Linked DNA regions of Homo sapiens: region 1 is linked to region 2. Evidence: promoter capture Hi-C in 16 types of primary human blood cells and fetal thymus (Javierre and others, 2016). All regions are on one chromosome and are shown on one strand. The core of a region is centred on a gene start or on the middle of the fragment in contact, and the rest is flanking DNA. Distances in the headings are between cores, read along the strand shown.

What was found. The method cuts DNA at HindIII sites, captures the fragments that hold promoters and counts their contacts. A CHiCAGO score of 5 or more calls a contact.
Region 1: a contact is called between a fragment that was not itself captured here and the fragment with the promoter of UBN2 in region 2, in 1 of 17 cell types (neutrophils). The highest score is 5.2, in neutrophils.

Annotation. Positions count from the first base shown.
Region 1 is chr7:139,050,869-139,057,236 of GRCh38, reverse strand. It overlaps ZC3HAV1 (zinc finger CCCH-type containing, antiviral 1), which reads left to right. Exons shown (of 13, transcript NM_020119.4): 10 at 1,942-2,032; 11 at 3,142-3,272; 12 at 3,656-3,786. Among named protein-coding and RNA genes, the nearest start is that of MIR10399, 9.9 kb to the right of the region's middle. The HindIII fragment of the contact is 1,979 bases long and covers 3,202-5,180 here.
Region 2 is chr7:139,228,072-139,234,399 of GRCh38, reverse strand. It overlaps UBN2 (ubinuclein 2), which reads right to left and starts at 3,163. Exons shown (of 18, transcript NM_173569.4): 1 at 2,448-3,163. The coding sequence starts at 2,915. It also overlaps the pseudogene MZT1P2. RefSeq lists silencers at 1,947-2,206, 2,153-2,372, 2,583-2,832 and enhancers at 3,003-3,142, 3,223-3,382. The HindIII fragment of the contact is 12,885 bases long and covers 1-6,328 here.

The sequences.
Region 1 (6,368 bases), core at 2,942-5,441, 180 kb after region 2:
ACAGCCGTGCACCACCACACCTGGATAATTTAAAAAAAATGTTTCTAGAGATGGGGAGGGGGATCCCACTGTGTTGCTCAGGCAGGTCTTAAACTCCAGAGCTCAAGCAATCCTCCTGCTTCGGCCTCCCAAAGTGCTGGGATTATAGGGATGAGCCACCACACCTGGCCTAACTTTTTTTCTTTTGCTGGAATATTTTAATGTAAATCCAATACATGTTATCATTTCCCTGTATATATATTAGGTGTCTTCCTAACAGGTAAGAGGTTTTAAAAAACATAATACAATATCATTAACCTATGTAACAAAGTTAATGATAATTCCTTAATATCATCTAATACCCAGTTCACGTTTTATGTTTTCCCATTGTCTTAAACAATGACTATTTAGAGTTGAGGTATTGCAAATCAGTATCTAAGCAGGGTCTGTACATTGTGTTTGGTTGATTTGTGTCATAAATATCTTTTAGTCTACTACAGTTTCCCCTCCTCTACTTTTTTCATGCAATTTCATTTTTAAGAAATCAGATAGGCCAGGTGTGGTGGCTCATGCCTGTAATCCTAGCACTTTGGGAGGCCAAGGCAGAAGGATTGCTTGAGCCCAGGAGTTTAAGACCAGCCTGGGCAACATGGTGAGTTGAGACCCCATCTCTACAAAAACTTTTTAAAAAGTTAGACAGGTGTGGTGGTACACACTTGTGGTCCCAGCTACTCAAGAGGTTGAGGTGGGAGGATCACTTGAGCCCAGGAGGTTGAGCTGTCTTTGCACCATTGTACTCAGCCTGGGCAACAGAGTGAGACTGTCTCAAAAAAAAAAAAAAAGAAAAGAAAAGAAAAAGAAAAAGGAAAAAAAAAAAACAATAAAAACAACGACTAGGTGATTTGACCTATAGAATTTTCCAAATTCAAAATGTAGAAAATTAACCTGGCATGCTGGCTGATGCTTATAATCCTAGCACTTTGGGAGGTTGAGGTGGGAGGATCACTTGGGCTCAGGAGGTTGAGGATATAGTGAGCCATGATCACACCACTGTACTTCAGCCTGGGTGACAGAGTGAAACTCTGTCTCAAAACAGATTAGCAAATTGTTTCCTCATGGGGTCATTTGATGTGTAATTTCTATAAATTGATCATTAGATTTAGGGAACTGATTAGATTTAGGTTCAGTTTTGAGTCAAGTATGCTATACAATTGATGGCTTCGTACCAGTGGTTCTGTCCCATCTTATGAAGAGATATACAGTGTCTGATTGTCCTATTTTTAGTGATGGAGATCACAGAGTAGGTTCAGGTCATTCCAGTCTGATCATTCCACTATACTATTCATCTGATCTTTCACTTAATGGTTTTAGTAGCTAATGATAATGATTGTTTAGAACCATGATGTCATTAAGTATTGCCAAATGGTGGTTTTCTAATTCTATCAACTCTTTTGCAACTATTAGTGTGATTCATCTATAAAGAAGAATTTTTCTGGTAGCTTTAGCTCTATGGGATAGAAAAAGAAAATTACTTCTCAGGTATGGTTACCCTGAAATACAGTTCATACTGGAAAGGCAGAATTCTTTCCTCTAAATTCCTAATATATTTAATCGTTTATCCTTTGACCAAGAAGCTGTAAGACACATTTGCTTAATGCTAACACATTAGGACCTTTGAAAGTTGAGCAGAAATATAAAAAAGAGTCAATACTTTTACATTTTAAGTCAATAGGAAAATGGCATTTAATTGACCGATTATGAATAGTTGCAGCATTTTTAAAAGACATGATTACTGGTACATCTATACCAGGAATATGTGAGGATGTAGTCCAGAGAAAAATACAGAAATAAATATTGTGTATTTCTCTAGGCATCCTTGGCCTAGTGGCTGGAAGTTAAGAGAAAACATCACTTGGGCCTGTGGAGCAGAGAGTTAAGTGAATTCTTTCTCTTTATTTGTAGCCATCAGCCAGCAAAGACCTCGTCAGTGTCTTTAACTGCGACCTTTCGTCCTCAGGAGGACTTTTGCTTCCTATCCTCAAAGAAATATAAGGTACTTGGTTTTACATGTTTGGTGGATGAGTCTGTTAAAAGTTAGAAAAAGTACTTTGCTACAAGTGTATGTGTTTGTCTGGATGAATGAATTGCTCCCGCAAAACTCTTAGATCGGCTGGGTGCAGTGGCTCAGCCCTGTAATCCTAGCATTTTGGGAGGCCGAGGCGAGTGGATTGCCTGAGCTCAGGAGTTCGAAACCAGCCTGGACAACACGGTGAAACCCTGTCTCTACCGAAAATACAAAAAAATTAGCCGGGCATGGCGGCATGAGCCTGTAGTCCCAGCTACTTGGGATGCTGAGACAGGAGAATTGCCTGTACCCGGGAGGCGGAGGTTGCAGCGAGCCGAGATCGCGCCACTGCACTCCTGCCCACTGCACTGCAGCCTGGGCGACAGAGTGAGACTCTGTCTCCAAAAAACAAACAACAACAACAAACACTCTTAGATCAAGGTAGAAAGGCAGTCATCTAATGGTTCTCTTTCCCAGAGATCACCTAACTGCTACAAGGCACCTCATTGTTTCCAGAGTTCAGCCACACACAGTCTCATTTGGGCAGATCCTCGCAACAGCCATGTGAAATGGATATTAACATCTCTATTTTATGGACAAGAAAACTAGAACTCACAGAGTAAAAGTGACTTGTCCGTTAGTTACAATTAACAAGTTTCTATGGGAGTCAAACAAACTGTGCCTCACTGTGTCACTTAACCTAGTTGGATCACAACTATTCCTAGATTGCTTAGCCTCCCCATGCTGGCTTCAGCTTTTGTGCAGGCTGGTCTGCTTGGACTGCATGGCACCTCAATTCCTCTTCCCTTGCATTGGGAAGAGGTTACTGGACTAACTCAGACTGCAGGGGACTTCCCTTTTCCCTTAGGCACAGTGCTTTGCTAGCTTTCAGTTGGCCTGGACAGACAGGCCCGCTGCCTCTCTGATTAATTACGGGAATGAGTTGGCAGATGTGGGAACCCTAAGCCAGCTCATCCTATCTGCTGTTAGAAAGAACCCTGGTAACAATACTTCATGGCATAAGGGGGCACATATGTGGATGTATCATGCTTTAAATGTTTCCTATTTCACATTTATCTATTTTTAAACTTTATTAGTTGTCAGAGATCCATCACCTACATCCAGAATATGTCAGAGTAAGTGAGCATTTTAAAGCTTCCATGAAAAATTTCAAGATTGAAAAGATAAAGAAGATCGAGAACTCAGAGCTCCTGGATAAATTTACATGGTTGGTGGCCACGTTATCGTGTTTCTTTACATAAAACCGGAAAGGATTAGTTAATATCCGTCCTTTGAGATTTATATTCACTGATTTATTTTAGTAGTTAACAGTTCCTTTAGGCGCTAGTCTTTTTTTTTTTTTTTCATTCTATCAACTCTGGCTTCTCTCTCTCAGCCTTACTGCTTTACAATTCAATGATTTCATGTGTCTATCTTTTAAAAGTTTTCATAAATTTATTATTGTACAGCTGCTGCCTTAAAGTTAGTAGCTCCGTTGTGAAAGCTGATGGAGTGAAATTTTTAGATGATTAGACTTTAGCTGGGATTAATGTTATCAACTGGAGTGGGAAGGGGATGTCTCCGTGTTAAGTCTCACATCTCTTATATTAGGAAGAAATCGCAGATGAAGGAAGAAGGAAAACTCCTATTTTATGCGACAAGCCGTGCCTATGTGGAATCTATCTGTTCGAATAATTTTGACAGTTTCCTACATGAAACTCATGAAAACAAATACGGAAAAGGTTAGTGCCGGGATAGAGAAGCGTAACTAGTAGAGTCATAACTCGGGCTTTATATGTGCTTCTATTAGGAGGTATATGTAATTATTTTGTATTAACCAGAGTGTCCAGGCTCTAGTGGTCCTGGAGAGACAGTAAGCTCACGGTAATATCAAATGCCCAAATGAGAGTGAATCAGTTGACTTGGAGCTTGATTGCTGGACCTTAGTCCCTGTCTTCTGTTTTCTTTCTGGGAGTGACCAAAGTCTTCATACGTGCTTGTAAACTACTCCATCTGTTGGTCTTGTTGTCTACCATTACTACTCACTTCTGGCTTGGCTCTTCCTGAACCCATGTCCATGCCTGCGAAGCTATATGAGGCTTCAGTTGTCACAGATTGGTTTTAATTAAAGAGCGGGAGAAGAGGCCTCTCCCCATCTCAGGCCACACTGGGTCACCTCGGTCTGAAGTGTCACAGGTCTGCCCACACACAAAATCTTTATAGCTCTTTCTTTTTGCTCCTAAACTCTTGCATCCAATTTTTTTTTTTTTTTGAGACAGGGTCTCACTTTGTCACCCAGTTTGGGTGACAATCTCGGCTCACTGCAGCCTCAACCTCCTGGGCTCAAGTGATCCTACAACTTCAGCCCCTCAAGTAACTGGGACAACAGGTGTGTGCCACCACATCCAGCTAATTTTTTTTTGTTGTATTTTTTATAGAGACAGGGTTTCGCCATGTTGCCAAGGCTGGTCTCAACTCCTGAGCTCAAATAATCCGCCTACCTTGGCCTGCCAAAGTGCTGGGATTTCAGGCATGAGCCACTGCTCCTGGATGCATGCAACTCTTTTTTTTTTTTTTTTTTTTTTTGGAGACAGAGTTTCGCTTTTATTGCCCAGGCTGGAGTGCAATGGCTCGATCTCGGTTCACTGCAACCTTCACCTCCTTGGTTCAAGTGATTCTCCTGCCTCAGCCTCTCAAGTAGCTGGGATTACAGGCATGTGCCACCACGCCCAGCTAATTTTGTATTTTCAGTAGAGACTGGGTTTCTCCATGTTGGTCAGGCTGGTCTAGAACTCCTGACCTCAGGGGATCTGCCTGCCTTGGCCTCCCAAAGTGCTGGGATTACAGGTGTGAGCCACTGCGCCTGGCCTGCATGCAACTCTTAAAAACAAACAAACCAGAGGGGAGGGGGGTGGGGGGAGGGATAGCATTAGGAGATATACCTAATGCTACGTGACGAGTTAATGGGTGCAGCACACCAACATGGCGCAGGTACACATATGTAACAAACCTGCACGTTGTGCACATGTACCCTAAAACTTAAAGTAAAATAACAATAAAATGAAAAAAAAAGAAAAAAAGAGAAATATTTATGAATGTAAATGTTTATTGTCCATTTTTAACTAATAAGCAAGCTTACTAAAAACTGCACTTCACACTTAGCTTAATGTTTGAGGGAATTAACTTCATAAATAAAAACTAGAAAATTAAAAAAACAAAAAAAAAACTAAGAATCAGTCATCTTTAGGAAATAAGTAATAGTTTATCACAGATTCAAAGTGAGTTCAACTCATACAACTAGGATTAAATTCAATTCTTGCCCCAAAAGGCAAGAAGTCAATCAGCCAGTCAGCAAATATTTTTGAGTGTCTTCTGTACACTAGATGGTGGGTACACAGTGGTGAACAAGTTAGACATGGCCCCAAACACATTTTGCATAATTATCTTACATAATTAATTAAATGACTGTGGCCAGGCATGGTAGCTTAGACCTGTAATTCCTGTACTTTGGGAGGCTGAGGTGGGAGGATCACTTGAGCCCAGGAGTTGGAGACCAGCTTGGGCAACATGGCGAGACCTTATCTAATTTTTTGTTTTAATTACAAACAAATTTTTTTAATTACCTGGGCATGATGGCACATGCCTGTAGTCCCATCTACTCAGCAGGGTGAGGTGGGAGAATTGCTTGAGCCCAGAAGTTTGAGGCTGCAGTGAGCTGTGATTGTGCCACTGTACTCTAGCCTGGGCGACAGAGCAACATTTTGTCTCAAAAAAAAAAAAAAAAAAATTAAATGATTGCAAATGTTGGGCTGCTATAGAGAAAAATAACAGATCCAGGTCAGGCGCGGCAGCTTCGCCTGTAATCCCAGCACTTTGGGAGACCGAGACAGGCAGATCACTTGAGGTCAGGAGTTCAAGACCAGCCTGGTCAACATGGTGAAACCCCGTTTCTACTAAAAATACAAAAATTAGCTGGGTGCAGTGGCCCATGCCTGTAATCCCAGCTACTTGGGAGGCTGAGGCAGGATAATCGCTTGAACCCGGGAGGCAGAGGTTGCGGTGAGCTGAGATCATGCCATTGCACACCAGCCGAGACTCCGTCTCAAAAAAAAAAAAAAGAAAAAAGAAAAAAAGGAACAGGTCCTGTGGACAACTAACCCAGCTAGAGAGGTGTTCCCAAGGATAGAGATAGAGTAGGATTCCCCTGCCTTGTAGAGTCACCACATGGCGGAGAAGGGAGAAATGGAACAAGGTATGACCATAAAGAGCTAAACTTGACTGTAAGCGCATGGGAAACTAATGAAAGGTTTTAAGCTGGGGAATG
Region 2 (6,328 bases), core at 1,914-4,413:
AATCAGGGTTTTACTGTTCATTTAGTATTTAAGAAGGGAACTGATTTAAATGCACCCACATGAATGGTATCCATATGTAACACACCTTTTGTTGTTTGTTTTTTTTTAATAGCCCCACATCTACCAATTTCAGCATCTGGAGCTAAAATCTTATTTAGTGATAGATGGCTATTTCAAAAATGTGGAGCCCTTCCTTTTCTAATTCTTCTAATTTTGGGAACCACCAACTTTCCAGACCAATTCTAATGTTCGCATTTTGCTTTTTGATGGTCTCTCTTCTAGGATTTCCTTTCATGAAACCATGACAATTTTACTTAAACATATGTTTTCTATGCTTTCTTGCATAATAAGGATATACACTGGCAGCAATCACAGGAAAATGTGGCAAATCTTTGTTGCAAAGGTGATTATATACAATGGATTTTGTTTTGTTCAGAGGTATATGAAAAAAATAGAAGGTTGATATACGAGATAATTGGGCCAATAGACACCTATACTGTTAATAAGTATACAGAAAAATTAAATGGAATTTTTCCTCTTTCTCCTATTGCATGAAAGTAGTAGTTCTGGTGTTATCAAGTTAACAAAGCTAGGGTGTCAAACCTTTTTCTTTTTATAATTAAATGATACACATTATTAATTTGCCATCGTGTGAATATTACAGCATAAACAGAGACATAATAAAGGTCTTTGTATTTCTACTGCGACTTACATTTTACGTCATTTTGGCAGAATCCTCTAAACTATATGAGTTAATTTTAAGAAATTTTGTTTTACTAACAAATTGTATCACTATGGAAAGAAGTACTAATAAAATTACATACATTTGTAAAGTGAGGATAATAGTTTTTACCTCGTGGAGTTCTGTTGGACTACTAGAAAAACCATGTGCAGTGCTTAGAACTGTGTCTAGCACACAGTAAGAACCAGTAAATGTCGTTATTGCTATGTATTTTTATCCAAAGATAATGCTTTTCTCCTGTAATTTATGAAAATTACAAAAACTGCAAACCAACTTAGATTAGCAGCTCAAATACAATGTTTGAAAAATGCTCCAATCCAATATTTTTAATATTCTTTTGGGAAAAAAGTGACCTCAGATTTATAAAGAAGGGGCATTCAAGTGAGTCTGACGAGCAAAATGTTAGGTGGAAGTGACCAAAATGATCTCTACCTTTAAACAATTCATTTTGGTTGAAAACATTTTGTAATGATTTGACCACATAACATTTCTAAATAATGATCAAAACATTAGCTGGCCATGAAGTAAACAAAACCTAGTGAAATTGTTCAACATGATACTTTGTGACTAAGCAGTCAGTCATTTTGACCATAAAGGTAGTTGAAGATGAAAACAAAACAAGGGACTTCTGGAGTCCATTAGACTCAAGCTAAAGCAAAACCTAATAACGGGTATAATTGCTAAGCAACAGAGAAAACTGTTCTCTTTCCTTACTGTTAATCTATCATTTCCTTTTCTAACTTACTTCTGAAGATCCACCAACCCACAACAATAAAAATTACAATTACGAACATAACCCCTATCCTTTCTCCATTGTTCACCTCTTACATCAAAAGCATACCTATATATTTTCAATTATTTTAAAAAATTCAAAGCTGACATTTTTTTCATCATCCTCCGAAAATTACAAAGGCTGAATACAATATCCTTCTATAAACTAATGATAGTACACTTAAATAATATGACGGGTAGGTGTCAAATAAAACAGGAGACACCTTCCCATTCAATTACAATATGAACGAACTCCACAAAAAAGGAAAGCTAAAAAGGTTTTCCAATACCAACACGAGAGAAAAATTAGTAACCAGATTAACTAACCCACTTCTCCATTCCTAAAGTGGGATCCTTAGTCTCTGAAAACCTTTAATTATTCTTAAATTCCCTTCGATTAAGAAAAATATCACAGGCACGCAAGCACACCTCAGCAGCCACGGCGCCCAGCAAAACAAACAGTGATGAGGATGAGGATGATACGAGAGGGGTTACACAATCTCTGCTTCAGACTGGGGGGCGTGTCCCCCAAGGTTTTCTCTTCCTTTCTACTGGAACGACAGCTGTAGCGCCACAGGGAGAACCCAGCCACACGGCCTGCAGGGCCCCAGGATTTTGTGTGGGGAGCAGAAAGGAAAGAAGGAAAATCTGAGGTTCCGAAAGGTGCACAAGAAAACGAGCTCGGCGCGGCGTTGGGAGCGAGTGCCGGGGGTTTGGGGATTCGGCGCAGCCGGGTGAGAGCCTCGGCCACCCTGGGGAGTGGAGAAAGCAGCGCTCACCGCCCCGTCCACCCGCTCGGCCCCGGCCCCCCGCACCCCACCCTCGGGGCGACCCGGACGCGCTCGGTGGGCGTCCCAAGGTGCAAACCAGCTGGGGAAGGCGGCGGGTCCTGAGGCTCCCGGGGTCTGGGGCAGGAGGGAAGAATCTTCTGTACCCGTTGTTCTCCGCACAGCAGCAGCTCCGGGTAACTGAACTCCACGCAGCTCTCGTCGGTGGGGTCCTTAAGCACCAGCTCCAGGCGCACCGTCTCCCTCGGCGGCCGCGGCGGCTGCTCAGCCCGGGAAGCCGACTCCCGCGGCGGGGGCGGCTGCAAGGGCAGCGGCGGGAACGGCGGCGGCGGCTCGGGCCGCGGGGGCTCCCGCTGCAGCGACATGGGCGGCTCGGCGCGGCTGACCTCGCGCTGGGGGAGCGGCTTCTCCCGCGACGGGGGCTGCGCGTCCGAGCGGGGGGCAGGCTCCCGCGGGGCCGGCGGCTCCGCCCGGGCCGGCTCGCGGTACGGCTGCGGCTCCAGCCGGGGGGGCTCGCGGGGGTACTCGGGCTCACGCTCGGGCCCCGGGTACTCGGCCTCGCGCCGCCGCACCGGTGACAAGCTAATGAACGCTACTCTGCGCGGCTCCGCCATCCCCACTGTTCTGGCCCTCCGCTTTTGCTCGAGCCGGCGCTCGCTTCTACGGCGCGCTGCGTGCCTGCCCGCCCTTCCTCTTGCTCTCTGTCGCTTTTCTTCCCTCCACCACCCTCAGCCGTCTCCGCCGGCGCCACGGTGAGTGCGGACCGTGTCCCCTTCCCCGCTACTACGTTCTGATGGGCTTCACCGCCATCGCCAGGGTCGCCGCGGCCGCCATGTTGGATCCCCCACATAAATAGAAGCAGGCCGCTGAGCGGGCGCATGCGCACAGAGGAGACGCTCGCGTCCACTGTCGTGGCTGTTGCTCAGTTTTCCTCTTTTCCTCCCAACAGTCTGGAGTCCAGACAGGTCGGCGGAAGTGACGACATGGCTCGGCCTGTTTCCGTGGAAACGGAGACGCCGTCTGCACCCTTCCTCAAAGGGAGGGTTCTGGGGTTTCCCGAGCAGTTTACTATTCGCACCCGGAAACCAGAGGCGCTCCAGGAGCTTCCCGGGGCTAGCATCGGGATGGGACTGAGACCGACCTAGCCATTGGCGCCGGGTCTCCCGTGCTGGGTTCAAGGGAATTGGGGTTGTTAGCTGATTATTCAAGGCGGACTCTGGGCAAGGGTAGAGAGACGCGCCAGCCGTTGTGCCTGCCCGCCCTGTGTCCCCGTAGCCTTAAGTATCGAGGGAAAAAAGGAAGTGCCCAGCTTCAGCCAGACTAGCCCCAGCGGCTTCCCTCCCGAAAGCGCAGGCCTCCCCTTCCTCGACCTACTCCGGTTTCCCTCGCCCGGCCGCAGTGGGCGTTGCGTGGGGCAGGGTCATTAAATGTTCAATAACGCTTTGCAGTTGGAAAATTAACAAGCAGATGAGGAGTTCTGGGCTCATTCAGAAGGCCTAAACTGCTGAAATCATAGAAAACTTCTTAAGAGGGTTTAGTGGTATTTCAGGAAACGTACTGTTTATGAGAATGCTAAAGGACCCATTTCAGGATGGGGAAGGAATTGATTGGGCACGCCCCATAGGCTCACTTGTAATTAATTAATTGGAAGTCGGGTTTAAAAGGATAAGAATTACTGGCCATTTTAATCCATTGAATAAAAAGTAAATTTGAGGGCTCGCCCTTCACATCCTGAAGGGAATCCAAGCCTTCTGTTAATTGCATTAACTATTGAAAGCTCTTTTATTAAGTCAGTGTGACGTCATTGACAAATTCTGAGAGGGTTCCGTTTTTTCCTCTCCTGTTATTACTTTCCCTACTTGGACGAAGATGGTGATGAAATCTATGATTCCAAAGGTCTCTCCCAGCTCTAAAACCCTATCTTTTCTACTCGGCGCCATGTTTTACCTACATTATCTCCTTCCCTATTGCTCCTTTTCTGATTCTGAATTCGGGTCTCATTTTTAGATTGCCTTAGTGATACTTAAATGACCTTTCTGCCTTCAGTCTCTGTTCCCACCAGTCTTGAGACGGGGTCATATTAATGTCTCTAAAAGAGTTTTTATTATATCGTTCTCTGTTCTGGCTGCAACTTACCTACAAACTGAGTTCTATGTATGTATACTCATATTCAATATCCTCCACAATTTAGCTCAGAGACTGCAAACTGGTGGTCTGTGGGCCAAATCCTTCTACAGGTGTGTTACTTATCCAACATTATCTTCTAACTTCTCACCCACTGAGTTTTCCAACTTTTTGATCCATAACCCACAGTAAGACATTTTACACTGTAACCTAGAATATACACCCATATATACATAACACATATGTGCATATGTGAAATATAAGTTTCACAATACTTACCTACTGCTTAGGATAAAGTAAAAGCAACAGACGCAACAGAGTTAATTTAATATAAAATATTTTATAATACAGTGTAGAAAAAAATGTTAACATCATATAGAAGCAAATTAGGAAAGATTTTATTTAATGCCATGGAAGTTCTTGCCTGATCATAGGTTTATTGCACTCCAGAATTCATTAGGACAGTGGTACATGAACATCTGATCCACTGTGGTGCCTGATCTTTTTCTTCTTCTAAACTGATCAAAATTGAAAACCCTAGTTCAGATATATAGGCAGTCATGAATAGTAATAATGCGTATGCATGTTCTGCATAGTAATAAATTCTTCTTTAATCTTAGTCTGACATCATGATAAATTGCATACCCGACAATCATTTCTCTGTGTAAATGAAGTACTAAGCTGTAATAATTTATTCTCTTCATAAAATACCAAGTTTAATCAAGTTAATTATTTAAATCAATAAAAATGATCTGGTTCACCCTATTAACTGCCCAACAAACTGTTTGAAAACTATATATTCTTTGTTAAAGGGTAGATTACAAGAAATGTTTTCCATGTTCTTAATTTAAAAAACAAGATTCTGATATAATGAACCTAAATCAAAATTCACAAATGGTGGCTGAAATCCTGTGAGAGTACAACATAAATCCATAGTTATTGTGCATAAACAATTCAAAATTAGTTTATAAAGGGAACGTCAACAAGTCCTATAACCACCACACCTTATTACTAATGGGTTCCACCACACTTCACCCAGGCACAGCAGATATAAACATCTGACAGACTGCTCAGAAAATTAAAGCTATTAGAGCTATAAATAAGGAATGCCTAAATATAAACATAGCAATGCCAATACATTAGTGCCGTTTTAAAAAGTGAATAAGATGCAGTGTAAACACACCTGATAGTTCCCTCTGTAAGCCACTTTCCCACTGATTTATAAAGCTATGGTTCTGTAATTCTTTTAAAAAGGACTATTTTTCTACACTGCTGCATGCAGTAATTTCACCGTACGTTCTTGATTACGACGCAGTCTTCAAATCCTCTTGAAGAGCTCAACATATCAGGATTTCTCCAGAAAGTTAGATTGTCATGTTTTCAGCAGCCTTTTGTGCTTTGGTAGTCTTTCGAAGCTCCTTAATAACCAGTGATATTTCCTTGGTTATTTATTAATTCTGGGTTAAGTCCTTGCTCACAAAGCTGTACACAAATAACCAGAGTTTCCAGTAAACCAGTATTCAGAATTCTTGAAATCTCTTTTTGTTTTTGAGATGGAGTCTTGCTCTGTCGCCCAGGCTGGAGTGCAGTGGCGCGATCTCGGCTCACTGCAAGCTCCGCCTTCCGGGTTCACACCGTTCTCCTGCCTCAGCCTCCCAAGTAGCTGAGACTACAAGCAGAATGTCCACAATCTCCCTCACCGCATTTTGATCACTGCTGCTGCCCCAATGCCGCTACTACTTGCCGTGATGGAGGCCAAGGGAACTATTTTAAAATTCTGAATATATTTTTCTCTATACAGTCAATAATTCCTCTATAAAATTATCTTGCTACACATATCTGGCATGAAAATATTATGCAACTTTCAGTATTAGTACTCTCAGCAAGTTGGACTGTTACTACA